Linked DNA regions of Homo sapiens: region 2 is linked to region 1. The links are contacts of gene promoters, found by promoter capture Hi-C in blood cells and fetal thymus (Javierre and others, 2016). All regions are on one chromosome and are shown on one strand. Each heading gives the region's core, a stretch centred on a gene start or on the middle of the fragment in contact. The rest is flanking DNA. Distances are from core to core; before and after follow the strand shown. Region 1 holds the start of TES (testin LIM domain protein). Region 2 overlaps ST7 (suppression of tumorigenicity 7).

Evidence for each region. Contacts are between HindIII fragments. The CHiCAGO score rates a contact against its expected background, and 5 or more counts as called.
Region 2: a contact is called between a fragment that was not itself captured here and the fragment with the promoter of TES in region 1, in 1 of 17 cell types (activated CD4 T cells). The highest score is 6.4, in activated CD4 T cells.

What each region holds. Positions count from the first base shown.
Region 1 is chr7:116,207,497-116,214,725 of GRCh38, forward strand. It overlaps TES (testin LIM domain protein), which reads left to right and starts at 3,043. Exons shown (of 7, transcript NM_015641.4): 1 at 3,043-3,238. The coding sequence starts at 3,212. RefSeq lists silencers at 2,762-2,891, 2,925-3,187, 2,942-3,141, 3,282-3,371 and an enhancer at 3,732-3,971. The HindIII fragment of the contact is 9,726 bases long and covers 1-7,229 here.
Region 2 is chr7:116,955,833-116,963,394 of GRCh38, forward strand. The region is part of intron 1 of ST7 (suppression of tumorigenicity 7); the gene reads left to right. It overlaps ST7-OT4 (ST7 overlapping transcript 4), which reads left to right. Exons shown (of 5, transcript NR_002329.2): 4 at 591-891; 5 at 3,321-3,985. Among named protein-coding and RNA genes, the nearest start is that of ST7-AS1, 5.3 kb to the left of the region's middle. RefSeq lists silencers at 22-281, 7,527-7,562. The HindIII fragment of the contact is 4,993 bases long and covers 3,447-7,562 here.

The DNA of each region.
Region 1 (7,229 bases), core at 1,793-4,292:
TCATCTTCCAAGACTAAGCCAAGGTTACTCTTTTCTAAAGATTTTACAAATCCCAATACCACCTTCTCCCTGACTCTCACGTGTGCTTCCCTCTACCTGTAACATTTCATTACTCTTACACACCTGCTACTCCCATACTAATCTGTAAACTGCTTAAGAACAAAGGGAATGTCTTATGTATTTTTACATCTCTCCAGTGATGAAGGGTACATAAAAGTTTAACACATTTCCCTCATCGGATATTGTAATTTGATAGCATAGAAACTGAATTTAACCTGAATAAATATTTTGTTTGGCCTATACAGAGAACTTCAGTCTCTCTCTCTCTCTCTCCTCTGTCTCTGTCTCTGTCTGTCTCTCTCTCTCTGTGTGTGCCTGCACACATGTGTAAAATCTAGTATTTTCATTTACTTCTCTAAAGATAAAGATCTTAAGACCATTCCTTAGTATTATCCAGTATAGTATATTGATTTCCTCTCTACTTGATTGAAACAGCAGAGTTGGGCATTTATTTGGCTGATGTGTCCATAAGTTTTGTGGAAAAGTCAAGTCCAACATTGACTAAAGCACTCTGGTAGAAACAAAGGGAGATAAAATTATAAAGTAATATCTTTCCCCACAACTGCACCAAAAATGCACTTTCCAAAGTCACCAATGATCTCCTTTTTGTTAAATCCGAAGGGCATTTGACCCTTTTCTACAATTTGACATTGTTAACTAATTTCTTCTTCAATTTCCTTTCTTGCTTTTAGGGATTTGACTCCTAATTTTTTTCTTACCCTTAATCTAGCCCTTATCTCTTTTATGTGTTTCTCTTGCTCAGCCTTGCTCACTTGGTGTCTTTGATATTCTTCTCTTTTATTTTACTGTCTCCGAGGCTCATCTCACTTCTTGGCCTTTAATTATTTATTTATGTAGGATGTGAACTCCTAAATCAGCATTCAAGATGTATATTTGGATACTCATTTCAATGTCTCAGTCTCAAACTCAATATATTAAAAGTTGTATCCTTTATGTCCACCACCAGCCCCAAAGAATGCACAACTGAACAAAACCCTGACCATCATCCTATATTTTCTCTCTTTCTGAGCTATCCATAGAGGTGATCAAGATAGAAATGTGTGCCATCTTCTATTCATTCCACTGTCATCAACTACATGTACTCATCAAACCATGCCAGTTCTACCTCCTTAATAACTGTAGCTTAACACCTGAATAACTGAACAAAAACTTACAATTTAACTCTCTTAACACTTATCTACCTCAATTTTATTTTTATAATTTATACATAATCTATAATTATTTTTATATAATTGGCACAGTGATAATTCCAGATAAAACTCACTGAATTTCTATTTCCATCCTTGCCAATGATACACACACACAATGTAATGCTGAGAGGGTTGGGAAGGAAGAATGGGAGAAAGGCAGAAGTTGACAGTTAAAAAAAAAAAGTTTCCAGATGGTTTTCTTAGTGTCATCTCTGCAACCTCATCAAATAAGGGTCCAAAATTTATGTTACAACATTTGTTTGATGCCTTATTTAAATTGCTTTACTGGACATTTTCCATCTGTTAAGCTCTCTGAAAGAAACAAAATTGCCTTGTCATAGCTAGACCTCATGATCCTATACACTTACAACGGGCAGACTTTGCAGGGGCCCACACCTTTCAAGGTGGTTTGGGAAAATGACACAGAAAAGTTTTACATCAGCTGAAAAGAAAAATGCATAACTCATTTTGGTAATTTCAGTTTTAATTCTTAATAGGATAAAGGAAACATGCACATTATAAATCAATGCTCTGTGTTAACAAATAATCAAGTAAGCAGAGTTGCAAGTATTGGCTAAAATGAATTTTGGATATTTTTAGCTACCAAATTTCTCGAGGCAAGGCAGACATACATCTGGACCTGAATATCTGCATTATTAGGGAATTTTTGTTTGTTTGTTTTATATTGTTTTGTTATTTTTAAAAGTAGGTGCCAAATTAGGTCACCTGCTGTCTGGGCAATGTTATTTTTTGCCATAACCACAAATTGAAGAAAATTGACTGCTCTTTTTCCTTAGTCAACATGCTGTGCTTCCAGCCCCAAACATCTTTGAGAAGTTGTTTAGATTCATGAGCAATGCCTCTGTCCCCAACAGGCTAAGACATTAGGCAGGTCCCTGCACCTCTGGAGTCCTCAGTTCCCTGCAAAGTGAGGAAGCTAGACTAAGTAATCGTTAGGCTCCCTTCCAGACCGACCAATCTGATGGTATTAGATGCAATTGCTCCTGAATTAGGGCATGAAATGAATTCAGCTTTGGTGCACCAATGTGATGACTCTGCTTCATCAAAGCCTGAGCACGCGATAGGCCTAGCACCATCTCACACAGAGACAAAGGGCAACCCTCTGCTTCCAAAGGAATGACACAACCTGTTTCTGAAGTGATTCACATCATCTTTACTTTTGAACAACCCAATGCTCAGAAAACAATCTAAGAATCTTCGCTGACTTTAGGGATGTAAGATACGGTTTCTTGACAGTATTTGGGATTGTGGAAAAAAGCAATTGAGGAAAGGGCATCTCCACAACGCAATATTGAATTTAGTGCCCAAGGTCCATCACAGGAATCCCTAACGATCCCTACAATCTCTCTCTCTCTCTTTTTTTTCTCTCTTTACCCTGAAAATAAACTGAGAAGTTAGTATTGGGATAACTATTCCCCTTGACCCAAATAAAAAGTCCTGGGCAAACACAGGTACAAATTGCCAAATGGAAAAAGTTCTTCTCCATCTTCAGCTAGAGGGAGGCTGGGGATCCCAGCTCTTTAGAAGCCGGCCCGTGGACGCCCAGAGAATCCCTTCGGAGACCAGGTCAGGGTCACTGAGCTTGCCCAGCAGGGCGCCGCCTCGGACGCCGCCCCGCCTCTCACCTTGCCAGCGCCGCGCTCGGGCCGCGAAGGTGCGTGCGGCGCTCGGTGATTGGCGGCGGCCCGGAGCTGCCCGGCTGCCATTGGCTGCCCGGCCCCCTTTGTTCCCGGGTCCGGGCCGCAGGCCCGCTGCGGCGGACTGGGCGGCGGAAGTTCGACGGCGCCGGGCGAGTGGCTGTTGAGCGGCGCCGCGGGAGTTCCGCAGGTTTCCCGTGTTCGCAGCGGAGCCGGAGGCCAGCTGAACCCGGCCGTGGGATCCCGGATAGGAGGAGGAGGGGACCCATAGGACGCGTTAACATGGACCTGGAAAACAAAGTGAAGAAGGTAGGGGGGCGCTCGTGGCGGGCGGCGGCTGCTTCACCTGCGCGGGTCGCGCGGCGCGCGGCGGCCGGAGGTGCCGAGGTGGGTGGGGCTCGCGGGCCCCCCGGTGTGAGCCCGGCTCTGGGTCTGCGGTGCCCCGGGCCCAGGGACCTGGCCCCCTGGGTAGAGGAGGTGCTCGGCGGCCCCGCCAGCTCCCCACACTCGGGAGCGACAGAATTGGAAGCGCGAGCGAGGGCGGGCGCGGGACTCTTCTCTCCAGTCTCACGGAATCCCAGTGGTTGTAGGTGTTGGAAACTTTACTTAAGATGTTTCAGCTCTGCCTGTGCCTCCTCAAAAGGAAAGGACGAGCTTAGGGCGAGTGCGGGCGAGACCGTGACACTTCCTGGCTCAGGAAGTTGAATTTCATTAAGCCTTTGTGGTTTGGGGCTCTGCTGTGCTTTGACAGCTCTGATCTCCTCCCTTCCGGCTGGGCTGTCTGGGGCGCTCTAAAATGAGTGTTGATTTAATGCACTGCCTTCGCACCCGTGCTGGTGATAACTTCTAATGTGATTTTTTTTTCGGTCATTCATTACTTGTCTACCGACCGAGGCAGTGCCTCCCTCTTAGGGAATTATCTGTCAAAGAGCGCATTCTCCTTGTTTGGCAGGTAGTCCCAAAGGGCGGTTGTCACCAGCGTCTCAGCGCAGGGAGACATTTTCAGCTTGGCTGCTGCCTCGCAGGCACTGGAACCGACGGCCCTACCTGAGCCACTCCCGGGTTATGCGGAGCCTGGTGTCGCCTGGGAGAAAAGGGTGGGGACCAGACTATGACTCAGAAGGAATGCTGATGTCACATTCGAGTGAATTGCCCTGTGCGAAAGTTCTCCTCGTTCCAGGGGATTTGCTCATGTTTTACTTTGTGGTAAATTTAAGCTAGCTGTCCCTTATCAAATAGAGAAGTTTTGCAGAGAGAGGAAGGGAAAAATACAGAAAACAGTTTTTGTTTTTCTCATACTCATGGTTCCTAATATTTTATCTTCTAAACACAAAGTTTTTGACTTGAGCATTAATTCTATTTTATGCCCAGAACTGGATTTTTGAAAATGGATACAAAATATTGTGTTAGGACTGCAGAGTTTTCGGTTAGGAAGCTATTGACCAATAAAAACTCGAAATGAGAAAACAGTTTTTTTCATTCCTTGCGACTAAAATTCTCAGGCACTCAAAAAGGTATCCAAGAACAGAAAAACATAAATTGTTAATGGTAGCGTGATTGCATTCTATTCTCTTCCCATTTGGTTTCTTTCTTTTTTTCTTTTAAATAACTGTAATATTTTTGGTTAATCTTGCTTGTCATGGGGGAAAAGCGGGGAAAGCATTTTGCCCGCTTAGCTTTCTGTTGATGAATACTACTCTCATTTAGTTTTCAAGTAGGTAAGAGCTACTTAATTTAGTACTTGTCTAAAACTTGGGGGGTCTTGTCCTTGCTTTTAAGTATTTATTTGAAGACAACTTTGCAAAAGTAAACATATTTTGGGCTGCCGAGGATGAACAGGTGAAGCACAGGATTTTTAGGGTAATGACACTATTCTGTATGATACTATAAAATGGCTGATACATGTAATTATACATTAATCAAAATCCATAGAATGTAGAACACCAAGAGTAAACCCTAATGTAAACTATGTATGTTGGGGATAATGATGTGTCAATGTGTTTCATCACTTGTAACAAATGTACTGCACTGATACGGGTTGTTGGTAGTCCGGGAGGCTGCTGGAGACAGGAAGGCATGGGGGAGGTACATGGGAACTTCGAATTTTCTGCTCAATTTTGCTGTGAAGCTAAAAAATGCTTTAAAAATAAAGTCTGTTTAATAGGGGGAGAAAAATCAAAGACATTTTTGAAACTTTTTGAGACAAGGAGTAATTCTGAGGGAAGAAGTTCAAACTTAAAAATTGTATATGCTTGCAAAGGAAAAATCCAGACGTTGTTTATAAACAATTTCCTTAGAGTTTGAAAATGTGGATTATGATAAATAATGCCCTTGACATATGGTGTAATTTTCCTCGTTTATCCCCCACTTTACTTTTAAAAGTTATATTTTCAACCAAGAATCTTAACTTTCTCTAATCCTCCTCTTCTCCGCCTCTACCACCCCAGAAAGAATTCCATAAATTAAAGGTTTTAGAGAGAATCCCATGATATAACAAATCCCTGTTTCACTACGTTGTCTTCACTGATGATTCTTAGAATCCTCAACTGGTAAATTGGAAGCTATTAAAAAACCGCAGAGATGTCCCGTATGACTCCAATTTGTGAGTCCCTTAATAGGCTTGATAGTCTAACAAAAAGTTTCCCAGTACAAAATTTGGAAATCTCAGGAATGTATTTCACAATCTTAGCCATACTCTCAAAAAGAAATTTATGTTCCTTTTAGCAATTGTTTTCTAACACGTCCAAAGAAGGAAATATTACAAGACTATCTGATTTACCAGCAGAGTCCTCACCCTATTTTGGTACCTAGTTTTCAAGTCTCCTTTCTTTTTGACTCAGTTATTCAAGAAAATTTATAGTTTGAATGTACCTTGAGAAAAGGAAGATTAAAAGTTGGAACAAAGATACAACCATTTAAATACAACTAATATGACTTCTGTTTTAAGATGTATGACATTTTTTCCTTCTAAAACTTTTACATTGTTGATTTCATGAGGAATTTCTTCCAGACAGATGAAAAGCATCATTGTTCCACATTAACATTTCATGTAAAAAGAATTAAGGAGGACTGTCTTTATTAAACAGTGATTGAGATAGATGATACTATTATAAAATTCTTGGTTTGTAAAAGGAAAGCTCGTCCACATCAGTTGTACAAATTGGGATTAATTACCAGTTAAAACCCACCATCACAAAGACAAGGGGTTTTTATAATTAGATTTTGCTATATTTTGTTTTGTTTGAAGAAAGCGAGCTGTTGCTAGGATGTGGGAGCTAGTTTGGTTATACAAAGTTTTTGTTTTAATAATACTTTAGAACAGAATTGATTCTATGTCCTTGCCCTGTCTTCTGAGTTACACATCTAGACCTCTTTCTTATTTTTTAAGTCTCATCTTAATTGGCTTTGTGTCAGTATGGTCCATGTCTGCTTGGGAAAAACAGTGGACTTTGAGAAGCAGAAACAGTCTCATTTTGCGGTGAATGGTAAATCATGGCCAACAGCCAGCTGTTTTCCTCTTTCCTTTCTGTGTTACTCTCCCATGAGAAATATTTTTTTTCAATTAAGAACATACCAACAGAGAAAGAGAACTACAATAATTTCCCTTTTACTGCCTGGAATTGCTGCAGGGCTTTTTCATTTTACCGTGTTCATTTTTTCTCTCCTCTAACCCCTTTATTTTGATTAATCCTAATATTTTGCATACTTTTCTTAAGACTCTTATTTCTTTAATTTTACTTTTTAAAAATATGATGCATTTTAAAGATTACATGTTACTAAAAATCCCCTTTCTCTGTATCCAAACTTGTTTTCAAAACCTTTGTCATTAGCCAAAAAAGCATAGTGAAACCAAATGAATACTATTGGAAAAAGGACTAAACTACAAAGATTATTTCCATTGGAAATTAGAATGAGTTATTTGCCTTAGGTAGCCCCTGGTTGAAGTGGAAAAGGCAATATATGGTGACCTGGATGCTCAAATCTACAATTGCATTCCAGGCTTGAAGCCATTCTTGCTGCAAGAACCATTGGCAAGACTAAGGGTAAAGGTAGGGCAAGGCACATCCAGGGCTTTGCTTTAGAGGTGTTCTGCCTCTCTGAACAAGTGCAGAAGAAAATGAGTGGTCCTCGGCCAGGCTTTTATAAAACTATTCTAACCCATGGTGTGATTCATTACATTGGTAGAATATGAAAAGTCCCTTTCTCTTAATTGTCCTGAATATTGGTTGGAGAAAAAAACTATAGTAGGTTTTCTATTGATTCTGTTCCTTTATGCTGTCCTATGAAGTAGAAATAGGAA
Region 2 (7,562 bases), core at 4,693-7,192, 750 kb after region 1:
AATTTGTGTAGGGGCAGTTCTAAGAGATAGCGAAAATATGAAGATGAACGTGCCATCCGGGCTGTACCTTGCTAGACACATGATAGAAGACCTGATGATGCTGGACTTTTCAGTTTGGTTTCATGCTCATTTCAGTCATAAAGAAAGATAAAAGGGGAAGCACACAGAGAGCACTCACCTCTCTGCTGTTTTTATGAGAGGGTAGCAGGATCTGGGGTGGGAGGAGGACTTTGGCATTAATTTTGAGACATGAAATTATAGCCACAAACCACCCTAGAACAGTTTAGGTTTTTCAAAAAACAGTTGCAGACATTAGAGGCCTATTTTCTTCCCTTTTAAGTAACAGTGAGAAGTTATAGTAGGAAAACTGCCAAAAGGTTGTTGTCAACTTAATTCCCTCCTTTCCTTGCCAATTCCCCTCCCCTTTGGGAAAAAGTTTCTGTACTGAAGTTATTGGCAAGGAAGGCCCAGGGAGAAAGAAGTCATTAGCCAGCACCCCTGAGAGGGGAGGCAGGAGCTAGCCTGGTCTAACTTGTCCTTGCAGGGAGGTCTAAAAGAGTTCTAACGGGACTAACTTTGCTGTTCTTCAGCCCTGTGGTGCTTACTCTTCCTGTGATGAAGGCAAGTGTGTTCCTGGAGAGGTTACTGAATCTGGAGCTGCTTTTAGGGAGTTGCAGATGGCGCAGGCCTCCCTTCCTCCTCAAGGAAGCCAAAGACACCATCACAATCAGGCAGCCAGGAGCCAGGGCTTCCATAGGCCCAGCTCTGTACCTGTAGGGGGATGGAATCTGCTAAAAGTGTTCTGGAGTCATTCTTGGATATCTGCTTGGTATCTTCTCAATATCTTGACCATCTGTGACAATTTTAATCCTCATTTGATCATATTTTATGGTAAATGAGCTTAACTCGATTTTTTTTTAATTTAGATGCCTCCTAATGTACTATAACAGGTGCTATGATAAGAAAGATGAATGAGTTTGTAAAACCCAGGGTAAATAAGGAGTTTACTACAAGAATACAACTTCCCATATGCAAGATGGGGCTGGGCAAGGCTGTGAGAGCTTCTCTTGAATTGAGCCTAAGAGGATGAGGAGAATTCCATGATTGAGGACTCAGAGGTGGACCTCCCAAACAAAGGGACAAAGTTGTGAAAGTGCAGGTCAGATTCAGAGAAGAGCTAATCGTGGAATTTAATTTAAAATAATAAAAGAAAAGGACTTTGATGAACAACCATACCGTTTTTAGCTCTTACATCGTGTAGTTTTCCAAGTAAAAATGCTTTGAATGCTGTTTTTGAGGTATACTACTTCCCTACTCCCACCAGCTTGGCTCGTGTGACCTTCGTTGCATTGAGCCAGTGCCATTTAGGGTAGGGATATAGTTCAAAGAATTCCACAGTATTCTCTTAGACCATACAGAGAAACCTTAACATTGGCAATCACATCTTGTAATGAAAATGAATTTTAAAAAAGAAAGGGGAGAAAACGAACATAATAGGAATAGTACATAGTGGCTAGCTTTGATAATAGTTTTTTTTTTTGTTTGTTTTTTAAGAGAGTCTTAGTATGTTACCTAGGTTGGGCTTGAACTCCTGGGCTTAAGGGATCCTCCCACCTCAGCCTCCCTAGTAGCGAGTACTACAGGTGTGTGCCACCATGCCCAGCTGCTGGTAACTGATTTTTGAGGCTCTGCTCTTGATTTGGATACAATAGTGTTAAAATAGTTTTATGATTTACTGAAAATAGAATGAAATTTTAACAAGGTTTTTAAAAGACCCCAAATAATATTACTTGTCAGTTTTCAAGTGAATTAATATCATAAAGCAATACTTTTCCAAAGGGCAGAAAATTAATTGTAGATTGGCACAGTCATGCAGGATATTATTAAAATAGGTGAGTCTTAAAAAATAGTACCATAACTTATACAGTGGTGTTGATGGCACTTTCTCATCTACCCTATGTTATAAAGTTTTTTGCTGCTGAATTTAAACACCTTTTCCTAAAACGGGCAACTTTGCTGTTTTTGCAAAAAGCAGCATAAGTGATTTTCCAATTCTTTTTCTATTTGCTGAAAAGCAAGTTTTCAAAGATCTTTGAAATCCGTTTTCATTCCTTTTGGAAAACAAATGTAATAGCCTGATCTAGGCTTAAAGTTATTTATTTACTTATGTTTGAGACAAGGTTTCACTCTGTCACCCAGGCTGGAGTGCAGTGGTGCAGTCACAGCTCACTGCAGCCTCAACCTGCAGGCTCAAGCAATCCTCCTGTCTCAGCCTGCCACCTCAGTCTTAGTAGCTGAGACTACAGGTGCACACCACAGTGCGTGGCTAATTTTTTTTTTTTTTTTTTTTTTTTGTAGAGACAGGGTCCCCTGTGTTCTTGAACTCCTGGGCTCAAGCAGTCCTACTGCCTCCACCTCCCAAAGTGCTGGGATTCCAGGTGTGAGCCACCGTGCCTGGTCAAGTTATTTAGAAGACTTTTTTTTGTGTTAATTAAGCTCATGAATACAGATGTAAAACTCTTATATTGTTGACGTGATATAGAACTTAGGCTGCAGCTCAGTTTTGGCATTTTTTCATGTTGAGAATTTTTGCTCTAAATTTACTTAACATTTAGATTTTAATTTACTTAAAATTTACATAAAATTGGATTTCCCTTCTAGAGGGTCTGGTTGCAGTTTACATAGGTCTTTTGCCCCTGTTGTGCCTGTTGTCTAAAATGTTCTTCCCTATCTGTAAATCCCACCCATCTATCAAGGACCAGCTGGCATGCTGCCTTCTGATCCTTTCAGCTGCAGAAAAGACAGGCTTACCTTGGAGATATTGCAAGTTTGGTTCCCGGCCACTGCAATAAAGTGAGTCCCATGAAATTTTTGGTTTCCCAGTGCATATAAAAGTTATAGTCACACTATATTGTATTATATTAAGAGTGCAGTAGCATTATATCTAAAAGACCAATGTATATACCTTAATTTAAAAATCCTTTATTGCTAAAAAAAAAAATGCTATCTGAGCCTCAGGAAGTCATAATCTTTTTGCTGGTAGAGAGTCTTGCCTTGATGTTTATGGCTGCTGACTGATCAGGGTGCTGGTTGTTAAAGGTTGGGGTAGCTGTGGCAATTTCTTCAAATAAGACAACCGTAAAGTTTGCCACATGGATTGGTTTTCCTTTCCAGAGAAAGATTTCTCTGTATCATGTGATGCTGTCTGATAGCATTTTACCCACAGTAGGACTTTCAGAATTGGAGTCAATTTTATCACCCTGCCACGGCTTTATCAATGAAGTTTATGTAATATTCTAAATCCTTTGTTGTCATTTCAGCAATGTTCACAGCATCTTCACCAGGAGTAGATTCTATCTCAAAACACTTTCTTTGCTCATCAAAAGAAACAGCTCTTTATCCGTTCAAGTTTTACAAGGAATTACAACAATTCAGTCACATCTTAAAGCTTCAGTTCTAATTCTAGTTATTTTGCTGTTTATGGCATGCCTGCAGTTACTTTATCTTATATGAATTATGGTATATGTGTGTGATATATGTGGGTCAGTGTTTGTGTATATATGCATCTTTTTTTGTATATGTATGTTTTATTACTTCTTCTAGATTCTAGTTCTTCATCTTCCAGTGTTAATTCCTTGTACAAAGTAGGTCCTTATCATTCACTGGATGAATGAATATCCAAGTTACGGTGTATTTAGTGAGCTGGGATTGGAACAATACAATTGATCAAATGCATTACTGAGTATGTGCCCCATCTAAGTTTGCAGCTTTAGATTGTGGTCAGAGGCTGTTACAAGATCTTATATATTCTATGATGGGCCATATGCATCTAAAGCATGGTGGTTCAGTTTATGAATATATAAAAGGACAATTTTTTGATTAATGTCAGCTTTGAGTTTAGAATGTATCCCAGACATCTTAGTTGCCCTTAATTATTTTTGGAGATATTTTTCTCAGCCATTAATAAAGCAATCCGAATGATGCATTTTTCTCTGAGCTTGAGTTTTTGTATATGTAAAATAATGGCTTTACATTCATTAAGTTTCCTTCTAGCTCTGGGATTCTGTGTCTTACGATGAATTTCATTGAGTGCAAAGTGTAGCACCAAGATAATACATGGACTTAATGAGTATACATGTTTTTTACAGTTTGGACTCTTAATACTTAGTGAATACAAGTCCAGATTTTGTATGACTTCCTGCAGTGGCTTCCATTGCATTGAAAATACAATCTAAGTGTATTACCTTCATTTACAAAGTTTGATGCTATGGCTCTTTCTTACCCCTCAAATCTGAACTTCCACCTCTCTTTTTCTAGATCACCACCCTCCAAATACGCTGGGATTCTTTTTTTTTTGTTTTGTTTTTTTGTTTTTAAGACAGAGTCTCGCTCTGTTGCCCAGGCTGGAGTGCAGGGACGGGATCTCAGCTGACTGCAACCTCTGCCTCCTGGGTTCAGGTGATTCTCATGCCTCACCCTCCCAAGTAGCTGGGATTACAGGTGCATGCCATCATGTCCGGCTAAGTTTTGTATTTTTAGTAGAGACAGAGTTCGCCATCTTGTCCAGACTGGTCTCAAACTTCAGGCCTCTAGTGATCTGTCCCCCTCGGCCTCCCAGAGTGCTGGAATTCTAGGCGTGAGCCACTGCAGACACATAAAATTGTGCTGAAGTATTTCTAATCACTTCGAGTTACAATTCTGTTAAGTTTCATTTTGCCTGCCAATATTATTCTGAAAAATTTCCCAACCAAATCTTTCTTGTACTACTGTGTCATTGCTCACAGACAATTTTTTTCCACATTGGTAGAACCCTGAACTCCATTCATACAGATAATATGAGGTACTTAACTTGTACATTTGTTTAAGTTCCTTATTGATGCTGGATATTAGATCTTTGTCAGATGCAAAGTTTCCAAAAATTGTCTCCATTCTGTAGGTTTTCTGTTGACTCTGTTGATAGTTTCTGTTGCTGTGCAGAGGCTCTTTAGTTTAGATTTTATTTGTCAATTTTTGCTTTTATTGTAGTTGCTTTTGGTGTCTTCATCATGAAATCTTTGCCCATTCCTGTGTCCTGAATGGTATTATGTAGGTTGTGTTGCAGGGTTTTTATAGTTTTTGGTTTTACATTTAAGTCTCTAATCCATCTTCAGTTGTATATGGTGTAAAGAAGGGGTCCACTTTCAATCTTTTGCATATGGCTAGCCAGATATCCCAGCACCATTTATTGAATAGGCAATCCTTCTCCCATTGCTTGTTTTGTCAGATTTGTCGAAGATCAGATAGTTGTAGGTGTGCAGCATTATTTCTGGGTTCTCTGTTCTGTTCCATTGGTCTATGTGTCTGTTTTTGTACCAGTATCATGCTGTTTTGGTTACTGTAGCCCTGTAGTGTAGTTTGAAGATGAGTAGCGAGTAGCATGATGCCTCCAGCTTTGTTCTTTTGCTTAGGATTGCTTTGGCTATTTGGGCTATTTTTTGGTTCCATATGAATTTTGAAACAGTTTTTTCTAATTCTGTGATGAATGTCAGTGGTAGTTTAATAGGAATATCATTGAAATTGTAAATTGCTTTGGGCAGTATGGGCATTTTAATGATATTGATTCTTCCTATCCGTGAGCATGGGATGTTTTTCCATTTGCTTGTGTCATCTCTGATCTCTTTGAGCAGTGTTTTATAGTTCTTCGTGTAGTGATCCTTCACCTCCATGGTTAGCTGTATTCCTACGTGTGTGTGTGTGTGTGTGTGTGTGTGTGTGTGTGTGTGGTGGGGGGCAATTGTGAATAGGTCTGCATTCCTGGTTTGGCTCTTGGCCTGACTGTTGTTGGTGTATAGGAATGTTAGTGATTTTTGCACATTGATTTTATATCCTGAGACTTTGCTAAAGTTGTTTATTAGCTTAAGGAGCTTTTGGGCTGAGACTATGGGGTTTTCTTTCTTTTTTTTTTTTAATTTTACTTTAAGTTCTGGGATACAAGTGCAGAATGTGTAGGTTTGTTATGTAGGTATACGTGTGCCATGGTGGTTTGCTGCACCTATCAACCCGTCATCTAGGTTTTAACCCCTGCATGCATTAGCTATTTCTTCTAATGTTCTCCCTCCCCTCACCCCCCCACCCCCTGACTGGCCCTGGTGTGTGGTGTTCCTCTCCCTGTGTCCATGTGTTCTCATTGTTCAACTCTGACTTATGAGTGAGAACATGCAGTGTTTGGTTTTCTGTTCCTGTGTTAGTTTGCTGAGGATGGTGGCTTACAGCTTCATCCATGTCCCTGCAAAGGAGATGATCTCATTCCTTTTTTATGACTGTATAGTATTCCATGGTGTACGTGTACCACATTTTCTTTATCCAGTCTATCATTGATGGGCATTTGGGTTGGTTCCATGTCTTTGCTATTGTACATGGTGCTGCAATAAACATATGTGTACATGTGTCTTTATAGTAGGATGACTTATATTCTTTGGGTATATACCTAGTAATGGGATTGCTTGGTTAAATGGTATTATTTCTAGTTCTAGATCCTTGAGGAATCGCCACACTGTCTTCCACAAAGGTTGAACTAATTTACATCCCACCAACAGTGTAAAGGCGTTCCTGTTTCTTCACAGCCTCACCAGCATCTATGGTTTCCTGACGTTTTAATAATCACCATTCTGACTGGTGTGAGATGGTATCTCATTGTGGTTTTGATTTGCATTTCTGTAATGATCAGTGATGGTGAGCTTTTTTCTATGTTTGTTGGCCACATAAATGTCTTCTTTTGAGAAGTGTCTGTTCATATCCTTTGCCTACTTTTTAATGGGGCTGTTTGATTTTTTCTTGTAAATTTGTTTAAGTTCCTTGTAGATTCTGGATATTAGACTTGGGCAGATGGGTAGATTGCAAACATTTTCTCCCATTCTGTAGGTTGCCTGTTCACTCTGATGATAGTTTCTTTTGCTGTGCAGAAGCTCTTTAATTATGTGACTCTGGGGTTTTCTAGATATAGGATCATGTCGTCTGCAAACAGGGGTAGTTGACTTTCTCTCTTCCTATTTGGATGTCTGGGCATTCTATGAATATTTGTGTGGTTGAGATAGTTACTGACTTTGGCCTTACAGCTTGATGATAGACTTGGTCCCTTGACTAGAATGCAATCTTCATATGAGACTGTAAAATGAATAAGTGCTTTGTAGGCTGTAAAATACTATTTAAATCTGAGGCATTATAGTAGGTCTTTTCCTCAGAAGGCTATATTCTATATTCTATAGGCTTGGCTCTCACAGTGAAATGACACATTAAACTATATAATAGAATCTTTTTTATCCTCGATATTCTTTCTAAAACTGCACCAAGCAAGATAATGGGTTATTGGATTGTTTGAAACCACACTACTGTCTGTTTGTTGTAAATGTGGAATAATATCTCTCAACATCATTATTGTATTTGAGATGTTGTTGTAAAGATATCTGTAAAGGGCTTTGGATTTTCCAGAAGAGAGAACTTGTAATGAAACTCATTTTTCTTGTTACAGTGGGGCAAGACAGTTGCTGATGTGTTACCATTACCCATCATTTAAAACTAGCAGG